Regions from separate parts of the Homo sapiens genome. Here all the other regions are linked to region 1. Evidence: promoter capture Hi-C in 16 types of primary human blood cells and fetal thymus (Javierre and others, 2016). All regions are on one chromosome and are shown on one strand. Each heading gives the region's core, a stretch centred on a gene start or on the middle of the fragment in contact. The rest is flanking DNA. Distances are from core to core; before and after follow the strand shown. Region 1 holds the start of LINC01181 (long intergenic non-protein coding RNA 1181). Region 2 overlaps BAALC (BAALC binder of MAP3K1 and KLF4). Region 3 overlaps BAALC (BAALC binder of MAP3K1 and KLF4).

Evidence for each region. The method cuts DNA at HindIII sites, captures the fragments that hold promoters and counts their contacts. A CHiCAGO score of 5 or more calls a contact.
Region 2: a fragment that was not itself captured here is called in contact with the fragment with the promoter of LINC01181 in region 1 in 2 of 17 cell types (endothelial precursors and megakaryocytes); the score reaches 7.4 in endothelial precursors.
Region 3: a fragment that was not itself captured here is called in contact with the fragment with the promoter of LINC01181 in region 1 in 2 of 17 cell types (endothelial precursors and megakaryocytes); the score reaches 5.7 in endothelial precursors.

What each region holds. Positions count from the first base shown.
Region 1 is chr8:103,118,900-103,122,579 of GRCh38, forward strand. It overlaps LINC01181 (long intergenic non-protein coding RNA 1181), which reads left to right and starts at 2,133. Exons shown (of 6, transcript NR_145429.1): 1 at 2,133-2,314. RefSeq lists an enhancer at 3,170-3,671. The HindIII fragment of the contact is 1,509 bases long and covers 784-2,292 here.
Region 2 is chr8:103,225,332-103,229,011 of GRCh38, forward strand. BAALC (BAALC binder of MAP3K1 and KLF4) reads left to right here. Exons shown (of 3, transcript NM_024812.3): 3 at 2,658-3,680. The coding sequence ends at 2,768. Among named protein-coding and RNA genes, the nearest start is that of BAALC-AS1, 55 kb to the left of the region's middle. The HindIII fragment of the contact is 551 bases long and covers 1,426-1,976 here.
Region 3 is chr8:103,203,449-103,207,128 of GRCh38, forward strand. The region is part of intron 1 of BAALC (BAALC binder of MAP3K1 and KLF4); the gene reads left to right. Among named protein-coding and RNA genes, the nearest start is that of BAALC-AS1, 33 kb to the left of the region's middle. The HindIII fragment of the contact is 533 bases long and covers 1,819-2,351 here.

The DNA of each region.
Region 1 (3,680 bases), core at 883-3,382:
ACTCTGCCCAGGAGGATTTGGTGTCTAAATCCTGCACATTGAAGACCAACCCTTAAAATGAAATTTGTTCAAATTCCAGTGGCAAAATCAGAGAGGAAAATGTTCTATCAGAGAGAGGAAATATTTCCCACCATGTCTGCAGCCCTTAATCCGTGAGGTCAACATGCCCAGCTGCATGGTCTTCTGGCAGAAGTGTTATTGCAGTCATCCACAGCATGCTTCTAGGGGCAGGACTTAATTGAATTTAACAGCAGCTAAATGCTCAGCTAAAAAGAGAAGTTATGGGCTGGGTGCAGTGGCTCACGCCTGTAATCCCAGCACTTTGGGAGGCCGAGGTGGGCGGGTAATGAGGTCAGGAGTTCGAGACCAGCCTGGCCAACATAGTGAAACCCCATCTTTACTAAAAATACAAAAAATTAGCTAGGCATGGTGGCGGGCACCTGTAATTCCAGCTACTCGGGAGGCTGAGGCAGGAGAATCGCTTGAACCCAGGAGGCGGAGATTGTAGTGAGCCGAGATCATGCCATTGCACTCCAGCCCGGGTGACAGTGCAGGATTCTGTCAAAAAAAAAAAAAAGAGAAGTTATGGAAAACTGTGATGCTGCAGTGAAATGAAATCAGGCTGCTATGTGTCAGGCTGCGATGTGGGGCCCTGTGTCCTGAGTCACACACCAAAACAGGAAATCCCCTATTCTCATCTTGAAAAATTTATTAGTAAAATAAAGTAAATAAGACCAAGAAAAATAAGGCTGCTATTATTTGAATCATTTAGTGAAAAAGAAAAGCTTTCTAGAACCAACAGAACATGGTAATGAACACTCTGCCCCCATACTTATCAGTCTGTATTGGCATTTTCTGTGTAACATACCTTTCTTTCCTACTAGAAACAGTTTCTCTAGTTCAGGATCTATGTCTTATTTATCAACTCCCAAAACTGTCCCTTCTTTGAATTCCTTTGATACTTAATACCCAAGTCACTCATTTGGCATTTATGTTACCTTGTATGGTCTATTGTATTTCTATTCTGTTTATACATAGTGACTCTTGAACTAGACTATAAACTCCTTCGAGGTAGAAGTCTTGCTTTGAACATTTTGTGTCCCCATTTGTTATTTGTTGAAAACAAGGCATGCCAAGGAAGGTGCTAAGGGCTGGATATGGGATAAGAGACCCTGGTCTACCTTTGGGGATTCACAATCTGGGGAATTTCCTCAGGCAGGGCACAAAACCTATGAGACAATCCTGCTTTCCTGCTGAACTTGGACCTGGGACAGGGTGGGGATGGGTGAGGCTGGAGCTGCTGCAGCAGCGTGCCTCCAATGCCTATAAATTTCCTGTTGGCTCTCATCCGTCTGGGCTGAATTTTCTATCAACCAATAGAAAATACAGACAGGTATTATGAAAGAGGGTGTTAGGAAATCCCATGCAATTATTATACATGTCACAAATGTGTGGGTGCATATGCACCTGTGAGTGTGTGACAGACAGAGAGGGAGGAAGAGCACTAGGAGGAAATGCCATCTGAACTGAATCTTGAAAGACAAACGGGAGTTAACGAAAGATGTTCCTGAGAGAGTGGCAGGTCTGTGCTTGCATCCTGATGTCAGAGTCAGATAAACTCCAGAAGCCTCAGGGCCTCTGCACTCTATCCCAGTGCTTCCCCAAACTCCTGTTGAGGGCAGACTCTTTTAGAATATGTTAACGAATGGATGTGCAGAAGAAAACTATCTTCTGAGAACAAAATTGCTCTAGTTTCTGCATTGCTGGTTTTCTCTGAACCTTTAATATGCTGATAGGCACTCAACAACAGAATCCTTTGTTGGCAGAGCACAAATTACCCTCTGTCTGTTGAACAGTTTCAGAAAGTTTATGAAGCACTTTTCAATGAGGTGTGGAGTAATAAATGATTCAGCAACACTTAAGTCCTGCCACCCTAGGCCTAACTGGTTACACTGTCATGAAAATTTACAAATTACATGGTACCAAAGACAATATAAACACAATCTATTGGGTAAACAATTGCATGATGGATTACTGTAGACTTATCAATAGTTATGGCATAATTCAGTCTTTATTTTTGCATATGAAAGGCTCTCACGCAAGCATTTTTCTGTAGCTCATTGGAATACAGTACAGATGGCCTGGATCAGTGCAATGTGCAACAAGAGGACTATATCGTCTCAGTAAAAACCTTGAAGAGATGAACCCATTTCAGAGACCCAGCAAGGGATCACCTGCATATACAGGCATCAGCAGAAACAGGAATTTGGGATTTATCCTGGAGGTAGTGGAAGCTTTTGGAGGTCTTAACCAGGTGAATGCAATGATTGGGTATATTTTAGAAAGCTCATTCACAGGGAGAGAGGACTTGAAGCGGGGTTGTTACTAGAGACAAAGAAACTAGTTAGGAAGTTATTTCAGGTAATGAGGGAGACATAATTTAGGGGCTAAACCAAGGAAGTGACAATAGGAATGGAGAGAAGGCACAGCTTGCGAAGCATTTAGGTGGTAGAACTGATTGACTCAGCTCTGAGGCAGCTGTGGGGGTGAGAAGCTGGGGTGGGTGAGGGTGGGAAGAGGGTGGGGAGGGTTGGAGGAGTCAAGAATGAACCATGACTTCTGGTTCGTGCAACAGAGTGAAGAGCTGAGGCCCCATGGTTTCCAGGCAGCCTGTGCCAGTGAGAGAAATGCAGAATAGAGTTTGATTTGAACTCTGGCTCTGTCAACGACTTGGTACTATGGCCTTGTGCAAGCAAGTTAACGTCTCCAAGCCTTACTTTTATCTTTTGTAAAATGGGACGATGATACCCCGCTCTTGCATGTGTGAAATAACTAACACATAGTCTGTGCTTCAGAAGTGAAGTCACTGCTACTCAGAGAACACAGAAGGAGAAGCAGTTTACAGAGAAAGATGAGTTTCATTTCAGAAACACTGCACTTGAGGTGGCTTGGACAGCCATGTGGAGGTGTCCAGTAAGGCATTAGATATATAGGTATGGAACTCAGGAGAAAGATCTGGGCTGGAGAGAGTTCTAGGGGCCACTGACTTTTTGATATTAGGCCAAGGCAAGGAGGTAAATGAGAACAACCAGAGAGAGTGTGGAGAGGGAGAGAAATGCAGGCCCTAACGGACGGCCTTGGGAGCATCACCATTCAACAGCTGAGGAAAGGAAGCAGAGCCGGCAAGGGAGATGTTCTGGAGCCTGCAGGGCTGTGCAGTCAGAAGGAGGCGCAAACCAGAATCTGAAGACGCAGGTTTGAGTCTCAGCTCCCTTGCTGACTAGCTGTGTGATCCTCGCAATTCAGGTAACCTCTGTAAGCTTGTCTTCTCATTCGTCAAATGGGAATGCTGCTGATAATGTCTACTTCCTGGAGACTTTGGTGAGCTAAGGTGTATAATTTTTTTTTTTAAGCTAGAGAGCCTTATAAGTGGTTCCATGTGGTCATTTTTTCCCCCTAGACTGAATCGGCTTACATCTAAAAGCAAGGTCACTTTAAGAGGGTCTCTGTGACTCTGGCCTTGCTTGCTCAGCAGGAATTCCAGCCTGCTCAAATTCCTCTAGGCAGCTCTGGGATCCCTGGGCAGGAGGTACAGTACCTGATGCCTGAGTGCCCCAAACCCCTTCCGAGGAAACGGGGCCTTAAGCACAGGCCCTCACGTTGTCCCACTTGACTTCACC
Region 2 (3,680 bases), core at 451-2,950, 110 kb after region 1:
TAGATAAGACTAAAATTATGTAGAGTCAAAATTATCCTTAAATGTTCCTCAAATCACCCATAAAGTATGATCTTTGGTTAGGTTCCCTAAACGCAGAACCTGAGATAAGGATGTAAGTAATTGAAAGGATGCAAGTAATTCTCATGCAAGTAATTGAAAAAGTACACTCAGGTGAAACCTGCATGGTAATGGAGGAAGCAGGGCAGGGCAGGGGATCAGATTCAGCAAATGTGTGAGTTCAGTCAGCGGAACAGCTGTAGTCTAGCCTCAGCCAGATCCCACAAGGAGACCTGGGGCAAGCAAAGCACCATGGATTTGTACCCCCAAGAGGCTAAGGGGCAGCCTTTTTTATCCTAACAATCAGGCATGGGATATGGGCCTATCCAGGATATGGGCCTCTTTGGCATTCCTGGAGGAGGTGGCTCCAATCAGATGAGGGCAATTCTCAAAAGAAGGGTGTGCTGTGAGCAGTTAGCAGCCAACAGTCACAGCAGCTGGGAGGGATGCTCTGGCAGAGTAAAGGGGATCTAGAGAGGGGTGTCGCCATCAGCTACACAAGGACACAGGATTTATGTGACATATTAGAAACATACATATCGTTTGCTAATAAATACAACAGAACAATGGATTTTTCTCCATCAGTGCAATAGTTCACCATTTATTTGGATGCACTACAGAGGAAGTAGTTTGTGTTCAGGGGCCATGTTGTTTGAAAAATGTGCATCTCTCAACACCCAGCACAAGGAGGTGCTCATGCCTGGAGGGGTGTTCCCACAGGATCTGAGGCAGACTATGTTCCCAGGAGGCAGACCAAGATGTCATTATACAGGATGTTAGGAAGTGCCCTTGAGGCCAACGCCTGTGGAAAGGGATGATGGAAGCAGGAGTGGGTTAAGGGAGAAGTCCAGCCACAATGCAAGCTGACAACAGCTTCAGCGACCCCTGCTCCATGCAGCTAAATGGCTTGTGGGAGCTGACCTGTTTAGGGCCCAAATGGTCAGACCTTTATGCCCTTCCATTTACCTGCACATTGGCCCATCTTGGGAAGGGCACAAACTTGAGTGAGGTGGCTCTCTGCAGCTGATGCTGTCCCCAGCTGGAGGCTACTTGCTGACTGTTCTCCCTGCAGCGAGGCAGCAGGTCATTTCTGGAATGGGGCTGGGCAGCAAATAACTGTGTCCATCCACTAGTGGAGGTGACTCACAAGCCCACTCGTGTTCACCCCCAGCACACAATCACAAGAATAGGCACAACACTGCCCCTCACCAATGCTGTTTTCTCTTTTAGGGGATGGAGAGTCAGGGACTGGACACATATACTTAAAGAACCTACAATTTAATTAATGCTTTAATGTTTAATATTAATTCAGAACTTTTGTCATTGGTTTATCCTTAGTTAGAAGTAGATAGTCTATCCTACTTTTTAAGCTTATTTTTTTCCCATTTTCATTTAGTGACAGTCATTGTACTAAGTACCTTACATGCATTACCTTATTTAATCCATATAAAAACCTTATGAGAGAGATAATATTATTATTCCCCATTTTACAGATAAGGGTTAGAGAGTTGGAAAAACTTGCCCATAGTGAAATCATATAGCCAGTATTTGAACCAAAGTCTCTCTGACTCCAAAGCTCAAACACTTAACCACTCTACTAAAGCCAACTATGAAAACTTTCACATTACCCTTTGATGGACCATAGCTCATTCACTCAACAGTGTTTTAATAAACATGCCCTATTCCAGGCTCTGTGCTGTGTTGGTATTAAAGATTCAACAAAGAAACCTCTGATAGGAAGCATATGTGCATGCGTTCTTGTGGGTCATTCTTCCTGACTGTGTGTGTGCGTGTATGTGTGTGTGTGTATTTGTGATAATCTCAAGAGATTAATGCAAATTGTGAGGACCTTCGTATATTTCTGTGAAAGGAAAATAAAAATCTCAGGACCCCAAACTCACTATGGAAAGGGAAAGTTAAGCTTAGGAGCTAAGCCACCCAAAACTGCCTTCCATTTTGTTCCTAAACAGATAACTGCAAAGATAGAAGGCCACATACCTTCCAGGGGGACTCCCTCACAATTTCTTACAAAGAAATTCCTTGTGGGCCCTAAGATCTTTACCCTAAAACAGAGTTCTGTTGGATTTCACCCCATGTAAATTAACAGCTTATCTTCACAGGTATGGGACAAAGACAGGACTAGGAGTCATCCCTCTGCTCACTTGAGACAAATGCATATTTTACTCATTAACTATTCTATGTTTCTTTTATCTTATGTAAAAAATGCAAGTTCATTGAGCATGAGACAAATGCATATTTGACTGTTCCTCTATCCCCTCCTTTCACACATAAAATGTGGATTCAGTGAATGCTCATCAAAGCCTCAAAAGAATGTAACTGTTTGCCCCTATTCTCTACCCTCCCTTTTCCTTTCCTCTTTCCCTTACTGCCCACTCTTTCCCCCTTAAATAGTGAAGTCCTCAAACCCTCTTTGGGAATTTTTGCACAGATCACAAATGTTCCTGTGATTTATGTTCCTTTTTCCCAGGCACATTCTCAACTATGGCACAATAAACCTCTAAATTGATTGAGACTTGCCTCGGTCATTTTCTTTGGTTTACATTTCCTAGTAACTCAATTCACTGTTTTCAACTTAACAGGCTAAAAGAGATGCTAAGAGAATGCCTGCAAAAGAAGTCACCATTAATGTAACAGATAGCATCCAACAGATGGACAGAAGTCGAAGAATCACAAAGAACTGTGTCAACTAGCAGAGAGTCCAAGCAGAAGGGCAGATGGACTTCTTCAGTGTCCTTCACGGCACTGGATCCCATCAAAGAACCTTGAAGAAGTGGCTGCCCCTTGCTGGACCTGAATTCTACTGAGTCCCTGGCAAGACTGTCTTACCTGGCAGCAAACTGCTGCCTGATTTGTTGGGACCTTCTGAGCCTTCTACTTATCATGTAAATGTATTGGCACAGTGCTTACATATGTTAATAAACTGCAAATGTGCAGTTCAGTTTGTCTCTTTGCAACTCCTGTAATACGGTCTGGTGTAAAAGTAGTGAGTTAAAGCTACAGGTCAGTTTATGAAACAGAAAAGTAGGAATGCATTTTCTGGGTGAAAGAGTCACACCTTAGTGCTATAACTCTCCTGCCCATGATAGTGTATTCTGTTTCAGGCAAGCTTATTCTTTCCTTCTTTCATTTTAAATATTGTCATTACAAATCTTACCAGGTTCACTTAAAAGCTGGCTTTCATCCAACTCTAAACCCACATATTGAAAAAATCAAGGTACAGGAAAACTCCTTGTTATCCTTGTTTCCTTAGCTTGGTATGAGACAGATCGGATCCAGTTTCCCATGCACCAACCCACTGCCCATGGCATGTCTTTGGGAGGTGTCTGTGAAGCAGTCATACCTGCTCCTCATCTGCCTGGAAAGTCCTCCTATTCCAGTGTCCATGTTGGCCTCCAGTCCTTAATGTCACCATGCTTGTGGCCAATGCATCCAAATAAGGATACCCCTCAGGGCTCAGCTAGACATTGCAATTTTGCATAGCTTTCCAGTTCCCTTTGCTTGTCTTCTTGACTGTCTTCCCTCTCTATCGGGGTCACTTGCAATTGTTAATCAAAGATTGAACACTGCGTAGGAGAGGGAGATGATCCAGAGACATGTGGCAG
Region 3 (3,680 bases), core at 835-3,334, 85 kb after region 1:
CATACAATTGACCCATTTAAAGCATACAATTAAATGATTTTTTAAATTCCTGGGGTTGTGCAACCACCCCCACAATCAATTTTAGAACATTTTCATTGCATCAAAAAGAAACCCTGAACTTATTAACAGTCACTGTCATTTCCTCCCAAACCCCCAGCCCTACATAACCACTACTTTTCTATCTATAGAATTGCCTATTTCTGAACATTTCATATAAATGGAATTATATAATATGTGGCCTTCTGTAACTGGCTTCTTTCACGTAGCGTAATGGTTTCAAGGTTCATCAATGTCGTAGTATATATCAGTACTTCATTTCTTGTCAAACTGCCAAATAATATTCCATTGTATATACATAAAATACTTTATTTATCTATTCATCAATTGATGGATATTCGGGTTGTTTCTACTTTTTGGCTTTTATAAATAAGATTGCTAAGAACACTCATGAACAAGTTTTTGTGTGGATACAGGCTTTCGTTTCTCTTGGGTGTATACCCTACAGGAATTTCTGGGTTATGGTACCACTATGTTCAACCTTTTACAGAATTGCAGACTGAAAGCAGCTGTACCATTTAGTCTTCCCACCAGCAGTGTATGAGATTTCCAAATTCTCTACATTTCTGAGAACACTTATTCTGTATCTTTTTTTTATTATAGCCCCATCCTAGTGGGTGTGAAGTGGTATATCCTTGTGGTTTTTGATATGCATTTCTTTGATAGCTAATGATGCTGAGTATCTTTTCATGTGTTTATTGGCCATTTGCATATCTTCTATAAAGAAATGTCTACTCAGGTCCTTTGCTGATGTTTTATCTGGATTATTTATCTTTTTTATTATTGAGTTGTAGGAGTTCTTTGAAAGTTAGTTCCTTACCAAATATATAATTTGTAAACTTTTTCTCCTATTCTGTGGATTGCCTTTTCACTTTCTTCATGGTGTCCTTTGAATCACAAAAGTTTTCAGTTTTGATAATGCTCATTATATCTATTTTTCATTGTTGTTGCTTGTGCTTTTGGGGTCATTTCTAAGAAACAATTGGATAATCCAAGGTCATGAAGACTTACACCTATATTTTCCTTTCAGTGTTTTATGATTTTAGCCCTTACATTTAGATCTTTGATCCTTTTGACTTAGTTTTTGTATATGGTGTGAAGTAGGGGTGCACTTCATTATTTTGCATGTAGATATTCAGTTGTCATAGCACATGTGTTGAAAAACTATTCTTTACCCATTGAAGTGTCTTGGCACCATTGTCCAGAAAAAAATGACCATAAATTTAAGGGTTGCTCAATATTTTCTAAGAATGTGTTTGTAATAGCCATGCAAAAGGTCACATATTATAGTATTATACATAGTATGTGGCCAACAATTTCTCATCAGATTGAAGAAATGACACTGTCCCATTCTAGTTCATTTTAAAGATGAAACAAATTCTTAGTAAGTGGCTGAGCAATCACAGCTTGTTTTACTTATACCTCAGTTTAGACAAAATTATTATCTGCCATGTGTTCAGGACCTGAGAGCCCAGACAGTGTTTGATGAACCAGAGTTTCACTGGCTGTGATTTTAGGAGATTCTTTCCATATTGATTGCCAATGTCTTATACTTTGGTTTTCTGTCATTGAGGAGAATGACTTGCAGGTTGTTTCTGATGATTTTGGACCAACTCTCTGTGACCACCTTCACCAAGGAAAGCCAGGTGCTCAAGCTAAGGAGAAATTACCCCTTGACCTGCTCTCCACATGGCTTCTAGCTACCATTTTTAATTTCTGTACTCTTCCCTCCTGCCCAGCTCCATTTCCAAAATAGCAAGAAGCTTTGGCTTGGCAAGGAATCCCTGGGGTTGCAATTTATCAGCAAGCTGTGGACACAGCTATTTCCTATCTTTTGGCAAGGTTCAGTGATTTGACTTGTTTCCTGCATGGAATGAAAATTTTGTGAAGGGTGTCAAACAAGAAATACTCTAGGGGCACATAAATGTCTCCTAATTTACTGGTACAGACTTCACTATGGAAAAAATATACATGAGTACTTTGTGACCCTCAAAACTAACACGAGTGTTGATCTCTATGTCAGATAGATAGATGATAGATAGATAGATAGATCTATATATATCTATAATATAGATGAGCCTCTGCAGTCTTTAGAATCCCCTGCCTTAGAATCCCTGGGGGTGGGATACAGGGAACTTGTTAAGATGCATATTCCTGGGCCCCTACTGAATCAGAAGTTCTGGAGGAATGAATGTAGAGATCTGCATTTTAACAGACACCCCAGGTGAGTTTCATGTAGTTTCATGCATTAAAATTTGAGAACTGCCTACTTGGGAGTTTTTGCTAATACCACAAGCTTTGGAAACATACGGAACCTGGGTTAAACTTCAATTTCTTCTTCTGTAAAATAAGGGTAATTCTCCTGTCTCCCCAGCACGAGAGGAGTGGTGTGGAGTAGACATGCAAATAGAGCCCAGGGTTTAGTACAGTGCAACTTTCACAACAATGTCCCCACTCTGGGGCACTTGATGAGCATTTTGCATAACCCCAATAGGGTTGCCAGATAAAATTGAAGACACCCAGTTAAACTTTTATCTCAGAAAAATAATAAGTTTTGAATATAAGTGTGGCAGCAGTGCTGAGGGCAGTTTCCAGAGTCTAGGGTTGGTGGAAAGATTTAGGAAGTTGTCCCTTGATAGCCTCCATGCCTCAACCTCCAGCCTTCCCAGAAACACTGTGAGCTCCCAGATTATTTTAATAAATCCTTTTTTAAAGCTTTAATTCTCTAATCAATTTCTGTTGCTTACAGCTGAGAACCCTGACTGATACAGCATCTGTAACTCTCTACTCAACAACTGACCATCTGTCTTCCATTCTCCTCAGTTCCCTGAGCTCTCCCTGAAGTCATCAGGGAGACTTAATTGAACAATCTCTCAGGCTTTTCTTGCTGAGAGATTTTCTTGGAGAAGTATGTAGAGGTCATGGTCCACCCAAGACAACCTGCAAGGAGGAAGGAGCTAGGGAAATAAAAACCTGACCTCAATGTGCCGCCGCAGACCCTTCCCCTCTAAAGCTAATTCCTCCCATTGGTCAAACCCCACTAGAAGCCGGTGGACAAGAGAGCCTGTTGACATGTGCATTCAGGTCAGTCGTCTCCTGGGACACAGACCAGGGTAGAGAGAAGGGGAGAGTGAGACTGGAGGGGCAGAAGAAATACATCCAACAAGCAGGGTATGTATATTGTCTTGGCTCTGGTAGTAACAGAGCCTGAGATGGAGATTTTGTGCAAGTGACTCCTAGGGGCATTCCTGGGAGAAGAGTGTGAAGGAGGGAGGGAGAGAAGCAGGATGGGGCAGGACAAGGAGCTGAGCAAAGATGTGGTTTCAGGATTAGTCTAGCCTCAGCCTGATCCTATGGGTCACTTTGGAGTGAAAGGACAGAAATTGCTTAGAAGCAAAGGAGCTGGGCTATTGTACCCACTCTCCCCACCAACAGGTATTTTTAGTTGGTCATTAGCATGGACTGCCACTGATATTAATATAATCGGCAAGGCTTCTCCTGGTAAGGGGGCTCCCTTCAGTCAAGGGCAAGCCTTAGGAGAAGAAGCCAGGGGTGAGCTGTTAGCTACCAACATCCACCACACCTGGGGATGGGTGCAGGGTCAGGTGTGTGGATCTGGGCAG